Linked DNA regions of Homo sapiens: regions 1 and 2 are each linked to region 3. Evidence: promoter capture Hi-C in 16 types of primary human blood cells and fetal thymus (Javierre and others, 2016). All regions are on one chromosome and are shown on one strand. Each heading gives the region's core, a stretch centred on a gene start or on the middle of the fragment in contact. The rest is flanking DNA. Distances are from core to core; before and after follow the strand shown. Region 1 overlaps RALGAPA2 (Ral GTPase activating protein catalytic subunit alpha 2). Region 2 overlaps RALGAPA2 (Ral GTPase activating protein catalytic subunit alpha 2). Region 3 holds the start of CFAP61-AS1 (CFAP61 antisense RNA 1).

Region 1 (2,835 bases), core at 308-2,807, 310 kb before region 3:
TAAATGAGTGAACATCTAAGTCAGGTGCCCAAAATATTGTGTGTGGTGTAGTCTGCAGTTTTAGCTACACACACACAGACACACACACACACACACACACACACACACACACACTGTGTGACACTGGGTAAGTCAACCTCAAAGGTCAGTTTCCCTCACCTGTTTGACCAGGCTGATGAGAACGGGGAGGCCATGGAGGAGCTGGGTTTGGTTTTGCTTTGTTTTGTGGAGTGTCAGGAGAGACTCGTGGTCTGAGGAATCAGTGCGGGAAAGGCTGACCAGAGCCAAGACTTTTATGGATGCACATTCATGTTCACACACAGGTATCTTGTATGAAAACAACCACCACAAAGTAACATGTTAAGAGTGTTATTAAAATGCCAAAAAATATTTTAAAATGATTAACATAAAGGCTAAAATTTGACCTTAAATGGATTTTTTTTTTTAAACCAAGCAAACTGGTTTTCACTGTGATTTAAAATTTAACTAACGTCTCTGATATTTGGGAAATTCTTGATAGAATGTCATTAAAACTTCATAAAATTAACATATGAAGGTGGTATTCAGTAAAATTCTTTATAGACTAAATAATGATTTTGACTAATAATACTATACATTGATATGAGATTCAACATTTACAAAGAATTTTGAGGCATTCTCTTTGATTCTGTATGGGAAGCAGGCCAAGTCTTATCATGTCTGTTTTAGAGATGGGGAGATTGAGACCCAGAGAAATTGTTATCAAGCTGGAGTGTGAGTTCCAGAGATGAAACTGGCTTCCAAAATGTTTTGACTCAACGTGCAGTGCTATGTCTACTCCTTTACACTGTGTTCCTGTTAAAATTAAAATTACTGTAAAGCCCTTTGACCTACTTGAGAATCCTTACAGATTATCCAAAAGAAAGTCATCATTGTGGTACTGTAGGAGGCAAAACTGAAGCTTCAGTAGGTTGAATTTACTTAAACATGGACTAGTTTTAATTATTTTTATTGAAAGGGAAGAAAATTAGGTGATTACTTCTTTTGTCTGTTCTTTGGAAAGATTAGTTTTGATCCCATTTCAGGGTATGTATTGGACAGCTCAATTTAATAAACCTCTGTGAGGTAATTTTATATGATGCACTCCATGTTGTGATTAACTCCTCCAAATACTCCGTTCTTCTTTGAAATACTAATATAGAGAATCAGTACACGCAGTTCAATAGTTCACCTTGTCATCTGTGAAAAGGACAAACTGTAATGTGATAAGGCTTAAGGATTATCACAGTTCTGAATTTAACTTTCTGTTCTTAAGAGAGCAATTTCTTCATAAATGTTCAAAATAAAACTCATATGAGCCTGATTTTTAGGACATGCAAAGAGAAACAATTTGATTATATCTTTGTTTCTTATTGAATAATCCTACCAGTTATCAAATGCTTAGAATAATAAACTGCCTCCAAAATCTTAAATTCCTTCATCACTGGCAAACTGTTTACTTTTATATTTGCTTTCTCATTAAATCATGTTTGCTGAAAATAACAGCTAAATTTACTGTGCATTGTCTTAAAGTTTACCTGGGATTTGTTTTAATCAGATGTGGTAAGACATACAGACATGGAAATGATTGTCATGGAGGAAGAAGTTTATACTCACGGATCCCTGGAAACAGGGGTCATGCAGGGAAGTACCAGGAGGCAGAAGGAACAAAATGGGGCAACCGCTTTTAGTGTCATTTCTATGGAAATAGCAAGGCAAGGCAGGGTATGCAGTTTTAGGATTACTAATATGAATGACTTCAGTGGGCTCTGGAGCATACGGGCTGTTTCTAGTTTCCTGGTACCCAGTCCTAGGATGACAGGGCAGGGGATATTGACTTAGTATGTGAGAACTAGAGAAAGGAGGTAGTTGGAGGGTCTGAATTTTGAATTGGTAGGTTTGCATGTGAAAGACATGCTGCCTGGTGAATAGACTTCTATCTCTAGGAATTAGCTAACCCTGGAAGTGGCAGTCCTTCCCTGATCAGTGAGGCCCTAATGCCAGAGCATTGAGAAGACAGAAAATAAGAAAATATACTTAAGACATGCATACATTTAGTTCTGTTGAAATAGTCAGGGGAGGGGGACATTTATGAGTCTACAGCTAAGAATCAGTATTGTCATTTACCTCATCCCTTATTTAACAAATAAGCTTATAGTCTAGAAATACTGATTTAGATGCTCTGAGAAATAAAAAGATGAATAAGTCATAAGCCACTATAGTTTTTAAGAGCTTATAAAAAGGACAGAAGACACAACATTTATCCTAATAGTCACAAATAATGTGATAAATTCTATGACATTTACTTAAAGTTGTAATCATAGAGATAGACAAATAGACGGATGGAACAGAAGATAAAATATAGCACTGAGTGCACACAGACATGGAATCATGATATATGATATATGTGGCTTGTCAGGTCTGACAAGGAAACAATGTATTGTTCAACACATTTCTGTGGGACAAGTACTTAGCCATATGGAAAAAAATGAAATAGAATTCCTACCTCACGCCATGTCCAAAGTCAGTTTCAGAGGGATAAAGTACATAAATGTGAAAAGGAAAATTTAAAAACTTTTGGAAGAAAACGTCTTTTTTAAAAGGTTCTATGATTTTTTTTAAAAAATAGCTAACCATAAAAAAAGTGTCAGTAATTCAACCTCAGCAAAATGAAAACTGCATTACCAGAGAAACTTTTAAGAATTCTGTGGTTTAGCAGAACCACAAAGGGAAAAAGCCAGCTTTGTTGCTCTTTTCTTTCCATGTTCTTGTTAGCTCAGTGATAACTTTTAAAGTAAGGTTTGGTGAGAAATGTTA
Region 2 (2,866 bases), core at 7-2,506, 300 kb before region 3:
GTATTTTTAAAATTTTAGCCACTTATTTTGTAGGCAATAATATTTAGCTTGTAGGAACATTTTGCTTTCATTTAACTCCACATTTTTATGAACGTTTTGTCACATCAATGTTAAAAAAAACCATAATTTTAAACATCATATATAGAGCAGTATTCTATCACAGAAGTCAAAGTAGTTCATGATTTTCTTAACGGGTGTTACAACCCCCTCTCATGAGGTATATGATGGAATAATATAATAATAAACAGTCGTTTGTAAAAAGATCCCATGAGGCCCCTCAGTGAGCATTAAGACTCAGCAGTGAGCTTTGAAAGCAAGGTGCAGGGGTGATACTTGTAAATTGGCCATACCTGACTCTTTTAATAACCCCAGACAGCCTGTATCATGCAGTCATATGTAATAATTGCATCACCTTTTCTCAGACAAAGAATTGTTCTTTGCTGAAAATTTAGACTTGTTACTATGGAACCATATATGTTAGATAAACATAAATTTCAAAGTATATTTAAGGTGAAACATAAGTGAGTATTCAGTTCCAGGAAAGGTAAAGAATTAGGATGGCAAATTGGAGGCCTTGTTTATCTCAAATCCCTGGAAATAATTTTAATACATGTCTCTAAAGTGCTCATTCTGTACAGCAAGTGATTTTACCAAGGTTTTAATTTATAGGATTTTAACTCAACACTAGCAGATAAAGTACTTATTTGTGAATTTAAAGATCTAACTGATGTTCCGAGGATGAAATAATAACTTTGATGTGTATCAGTAGAGGAACTTTAGACCTTTAGAAGGCTAACTTTGTTAAAGCTTCATTTAAAAACAGTTTAAAAAAAACTATAGGTTTATACAACAAGTAAAAATAGGACTAATGTGGGGCCTTATTCCTAAGGTTTCTAAGAATTGGAAAATGTACTTCCAAGAATTCAGGATATAAGATGGCTTCAGAATATATTGACTTTCAAGAATAACATATGACTCTCATGGATGGCAGGCCTGATACTGGGAACTAAAATACCTTAGAGCTAGACTCAGCTTTGTCACTCACTGGCCATGGGGCCCTCACCTATCCACAAGTAGTCAAGTGAATGAATTGGGCTAGAGAGCCTCTCAGACCCTTTCCCATTAAGCATTCTTAGATCCTCTGATTTATTTTTAGGCACTTTATTATTAGGGTCACATCACTCCTTCCTAAATGTGGCACAAAGTTCAATGATCTTTTTATGTTGAATATTTTTTCCTGCCATGGTAAAGACCTAGTCAGGTTATGAGAGTGTGAGATGCATAAACAAGTATCTGTACTAACCATCAACTTGTGCAGAAGACCAAATAAGTAGTGATATACATGTTATGAAAATTGAACTGTTGAATATCCTTTTAGCTAAGTTGATTTGAAAGCAGCTCACAAAGGAGAGGGGATTTAGCAGGACTTTCAAGAATGGATAGGATTTAAATAGCAGGACAAGAAGCATGATGGAGTTTCACATCAAAGATACAGAACTTTTCAGGCTGTGTTCAGGAACAATGACTAGAGTGGCTTTGATTTAATGCCAGATATATGCGTAGAAATAATATATGGTCATGAATCCAGGCAGCACTGTAGAGAGCCTTGATTCAAAGTAGTTTTCATCCCATGGACAGTGGGGAGCTGTTGAAGGTTTTTGAGCATGATACTCCACATGACCACAAGAGCATTTTAAGAAGCTTAAACCACAGTGATAAAGTGGGGGTGAATTATAATCATGAAAGAATGATGACAACAAACACAGAAAGGAAATTATTATAATAGCCCAGGGGCAAGGTAATGAGGGCTAACAAGGACTGAGGCACAGATGGGGTTTGTGTGTGTGTGTGTCTATGTGTATAATTCATTATATGTGTATATATTTTGTATATATATGCACATATGTGTTTTGTGCATGTGTGTGTGTGTGTGTTTGTCTGTGTGTGAGAAATATGTTGGAGAGGTAGGATGTAGTACTGATTGGTAAGCATCCTGAGAAAGTAGTGTCCTGGCACGATTCCCATTATCTGTCAAGGCAAATGTTGGTTCAGAAAGGCAAGAAGATGAATTGAGAAAAGGAAGACATGTGGGCATGATAGGATAAAGGGACTGTAAGTTTCGACTCATGTCTTGATGACCCTTCCTCACCTTGGACATTATAGCATAGGACAGGCCAAATGGGTGCATCCGAGGATACACCAAGGGGTGTCCCCAAAGAATTCTTGCCTGTTAGGAATTAGAAATGTGCAGGAAAGATTTCCAGGGACATTTTCTCTGTACTTAAGAGAACATATTTTCTAATTCTGTTGGAATTCAAGCAGTTGGTATGCAAATTGTAAATGTATTTATAATTATTAAAATGGGACATCTAAAGGGCTCTGTAATTGATGTTTTTGTTAGCCAAGACATATATTTGTTACTAATTATTTCTGAAAGTAATGTAGCACTTAAAAACAAGTCCTTTTATTTTTCTAAAAATACAACTTCTGACCTGAATTTACTTTACTCAAGTTAATGAAATATTATTGAATATAAGGGGAGTTTACTGTAGCAATAAACAAAACTTCCAAGTTTGACTTAGGTTTGATTGAAGGATAATATTTATAAGGACAGGTGAGAGATGACAGTCCTCTCCTGACATGTATTGTTAAGTTAATCATAATTCCTGTTTGTGCTTATTGTACAAATTCAGAGTGATAAAATACAGAAGCTGTCATATAATTAACGTTACACCATCAGGTAGCATCCACTGCCTTCCGAGTGTTTTCCACAAGGTTTTGTGGGAATGGACAAGCCACAGATTCATCAAAATTTATCAATGAAAGTTTTATTATAACTTTATTCAGCTATCAATCGCCATAAAGA
Region 3 (2,786 bases), core at 247-2,746:
TTATAGTTTATATATTTTAAATTATGTCTATGCATATTTACCTATTCTTTTGTATTTTAATGAAATATATATGTATATATGCACATATACGTGTATATATATACATATATGTATATATGTGTATATATACATATATGTATATATGTGTGTGTATATACATATATGTATGTGTGTGTGTGTGTGTGTATATATATATATATATATATATATATATAGCCCACGAATAGAACCAGACAATGCGCTTTTTACTTTTTAGAAGCCAAAGCATAAGATTTCTATGCCCAAAACGTGACCTGTCCCGTTCTGCTCTGCTGAATAAAAAGGGAAGAATATATTAGATATAACATAACAAAGCCTCTGTTCGATGATGCATGCAGTGGAATTTTAATGTTATACTTTTCCTACAAACATGCTTTTAATAAGGCAGTAAACTGTATTTAGCTAAAGATGAAAATAATTGATCCATTTTGAGCCATTAAGGTAGTTTATTTTTTTTACTTTACTTTCATCCTACTTTTCATTTTCATGGAAAGTACAGAGGTAATAGCAGATGAATTTCAATTAGTTTCAATTAGTGCCATAAATTGTTATAATGTATCGGGTTGCTGGGTTCTATCAGAAACCCCCCAGCAGAACACTCCAGGTTTTGTTTGCAGTTGAAAGCAGCATTTGAGCCTGTGATGTCAGCTCTTCTCCATGGCACTAGAGCAGTTCTAATAGTTTAGGGTAATTTACTTCTATAAATCCATCCAACTCTAGAGCCCGGAAAACCATGTCCTCTGGATGGACTAATTCCATCACAGAACCACTGTGTTCTCCTTTGGAAGCAGAAGATGTGAAATACAACAGTGACTGTGGGAAGGAGCTACTCTCTGGGGTGGTATCTGTGTGCGTCTGCAATGGGTAGAAGTTCAAAGGAGAGCCGACTTCCTCCTGGGAGTATCTCTTGTTCTTGATGCCCAATATCCACTGTTCTAGAACAATCCATCCACCATTCTCCCCTCACATCCCTGGGCTTCAGTAACATCAGCACTGGTGTTTGTTAGGATTCAGGGTGTGGTTCCCGGAGGGACATGTCACCCAACCACAGCCAGTGGGACACGATGAAACTATTTTTCACTGTCCTTGGCTCCCTTGCCCCAACTCACATGCTAAAGTATTTAAAAAAGGGGAAATTAGCACTGAGGGAGTAAAAATAAACTATGATGAAAACTGTCCACATTCCTCCTGGTGTTATTAGGGTGACATGAAGAAAAAGCAAGGACTGAAATGTCCAGGACGGTCACGGATGGCTCCATGCGACTTTTCAAACGTGCATAAGCACAGCCCTGCTCCTTGCTTTCCATCATGTGCCAGACTTCTAGCTTCTGGCTTCAAATGCCAATGAGACAGGCAGGTGGGAGGGAGTCCCTAGAAAAACTCCAACCAGCCTGCACATTGGGGTGGAGCCTCCGGAAATGCATGCCATCTGCAGTGGGGAGGAGCCTGGCCCCTCCTCTTCCTGTGTGGAACCTGGGAATCAAGTAGCCGGCTTGCCTTGCGGAGGATCCTGCTTCCCCCTCCTCCACCCCATTTTTTTCCTTTCACCCAGTAAAACCCTGTTTAACTCACCCTTCAAACCGTCTGCGAGGCTACGTTTTCGTGGCCACGGGACGGACAAGGACCCCATCTTTAGCTGAACTACGGAAAAGCCCTGCAACACCACCATCTCATCGCTGACTTGGAAATAAGCTAGCAGTGGCTGTGTCAGCAAGACCACCACATGCAGCAAGGGTGGCCACTTCCAGCTAGCTCCTGCATCCACAGCTGCCTCGCCCCTATTGGCTACTGCCATCCATGGTAAGCCATTCTCCCGTGGTCACCTTCTCTCTGCTGGCATGGGTACTACAGATGGAAAGGCCATTTTCCCAAAGTGCTATGTGTGTACAGCGGCACCCGCCTGGTCAGCTCCCATCCCTAAAAGGTAACCAGTTAAACTTGGACGTGGCTGGGTGCTTGCGGCCCGCCAGTGTCTGTCCCTGCCCATGCCTCTGGCTTCATCTCCTGCTGCTGCCCTTCACAGACTCTGCCCAGCCCACGTTGTTGGCCCAGTGTCTTTTGGACACAATCCAAACTCCCCCAGCCTCTCTCTCTTCTTATCCTGTCCCTCTTCAAGACTGAGCTCAAATCCTCCTTTCTCGGGGAGGCCTTCTCCAAACTTCACAGCCTCCAGGGCTCTCCTGAAGGCCACAGTGCCTCTATAGCTGACTGGCACCTGGTGTACACGGATCCCTGTCTTTAAATAGAGACTGATATCCTCAACTTCATCAGGGCCCTGGTGGCAAGGGCTGAGACTTCTACTCTAGGGTACCTTTAATTCCATCACACATAGAAGTAAGAGCAATGCTAATGGCAGCCTCTATGAAACTCTTTCTATGTATGAGAGACTGTCCTGAGTATGGCATGTAATCTCATTTATCTCTTTTCACCCTCTCAGCAACCCATGTGAGGTAGATATTATCTAGAATCTGAGACACAAAGCAGTTAAGTAACTTGCCCAGGGAAACGGCAGACCCAAGATTTGAACCCAAGTCACGTGACTCCAGAACCTGAGCTAGACTGACTTTATAAATGTCTGTTATTCGTGAGGAGGAGCTTAACTCATCCTGTGTAGCCAGCATGTTATTACTCTCATTACTAAGGATGAATTTTTAAAGAATAGCTTCAATTTCATTCAAGGGTTCTCTTGTCTTCATCTCAATTGACCATCTATTTCCAGGTAGGCCGAATGCAAAAAGTTTTGATAA

What was found. The method cuts DNA at HindIII sites, captures the fragments that hold promoters and counts their contacts. A CHiCAGO score of 5 or more calls a contact.
Region 1: a contact is called between a fragment that was not itself captured here and the fragment with the promoter of CFAP61-AS1 in region 3, in 1 of 17 cell types (M1 macrophages). The highest score is 6.6, in M1 macrophages.
Region 2: a contact is called between a fragment that was not itself captured here and the fragment with the promoter of CFAP61-AS1 in region 3, in 5 of 17 cell types (M1 macrophages, fetal thymus, M2 macrophages and 2 more). The highest score is 10.5, in M1 macrophages.

Annotation. Positions count from the first base shown.
Region 1 is chr20:20,579,441-20,582,275 of GRCh38, reverse strand. The region is part of intron 20 of RALGAPA2 (Ral GTPase activating protein catalytic subunit alpha 2); the gene reads left to right. Among named protein-coding and RNA genes, the nearest start is that of RALGAPA2, 130 kb to the left of the region's middle. The HindIII fragment of the contact is 1,229 bases long and covers 943-2,171 here.
Region 2 is chr20:20,562,895-20,565,760 of GRCh38, reverse strand. The region is part of intron 23 of RALGAPA2 (Ral GTPase activating protein catalytic subunit alpha 2); the gene reads left to right. Among named protein-coding and RNA genes, the nearest start is that of RALGAPA2, 150 kb to the left of the region's middle. The HindIII fragment of the contact is 894 bases long and covers 810-1,703 here.
Region 3 is chr20:20,266,547-20,269,332 of GRCh38, reverse strand. CFAP61-AS1 (CFAP61 antisense RNA 1) reads left to right here and starts at 1,496. Exons shown (of 4, transcript NR_183979.1): 1 at 1,496-1,839. The region is part of intron 21 of CFAP61 (cilia and flagella associated protein 61); the gene reads right to left. RefSeq lists an enhancer at 1,767-2,267. The HindIII fragment of the contact is 5,830 bases long and covers 1-2,786 here.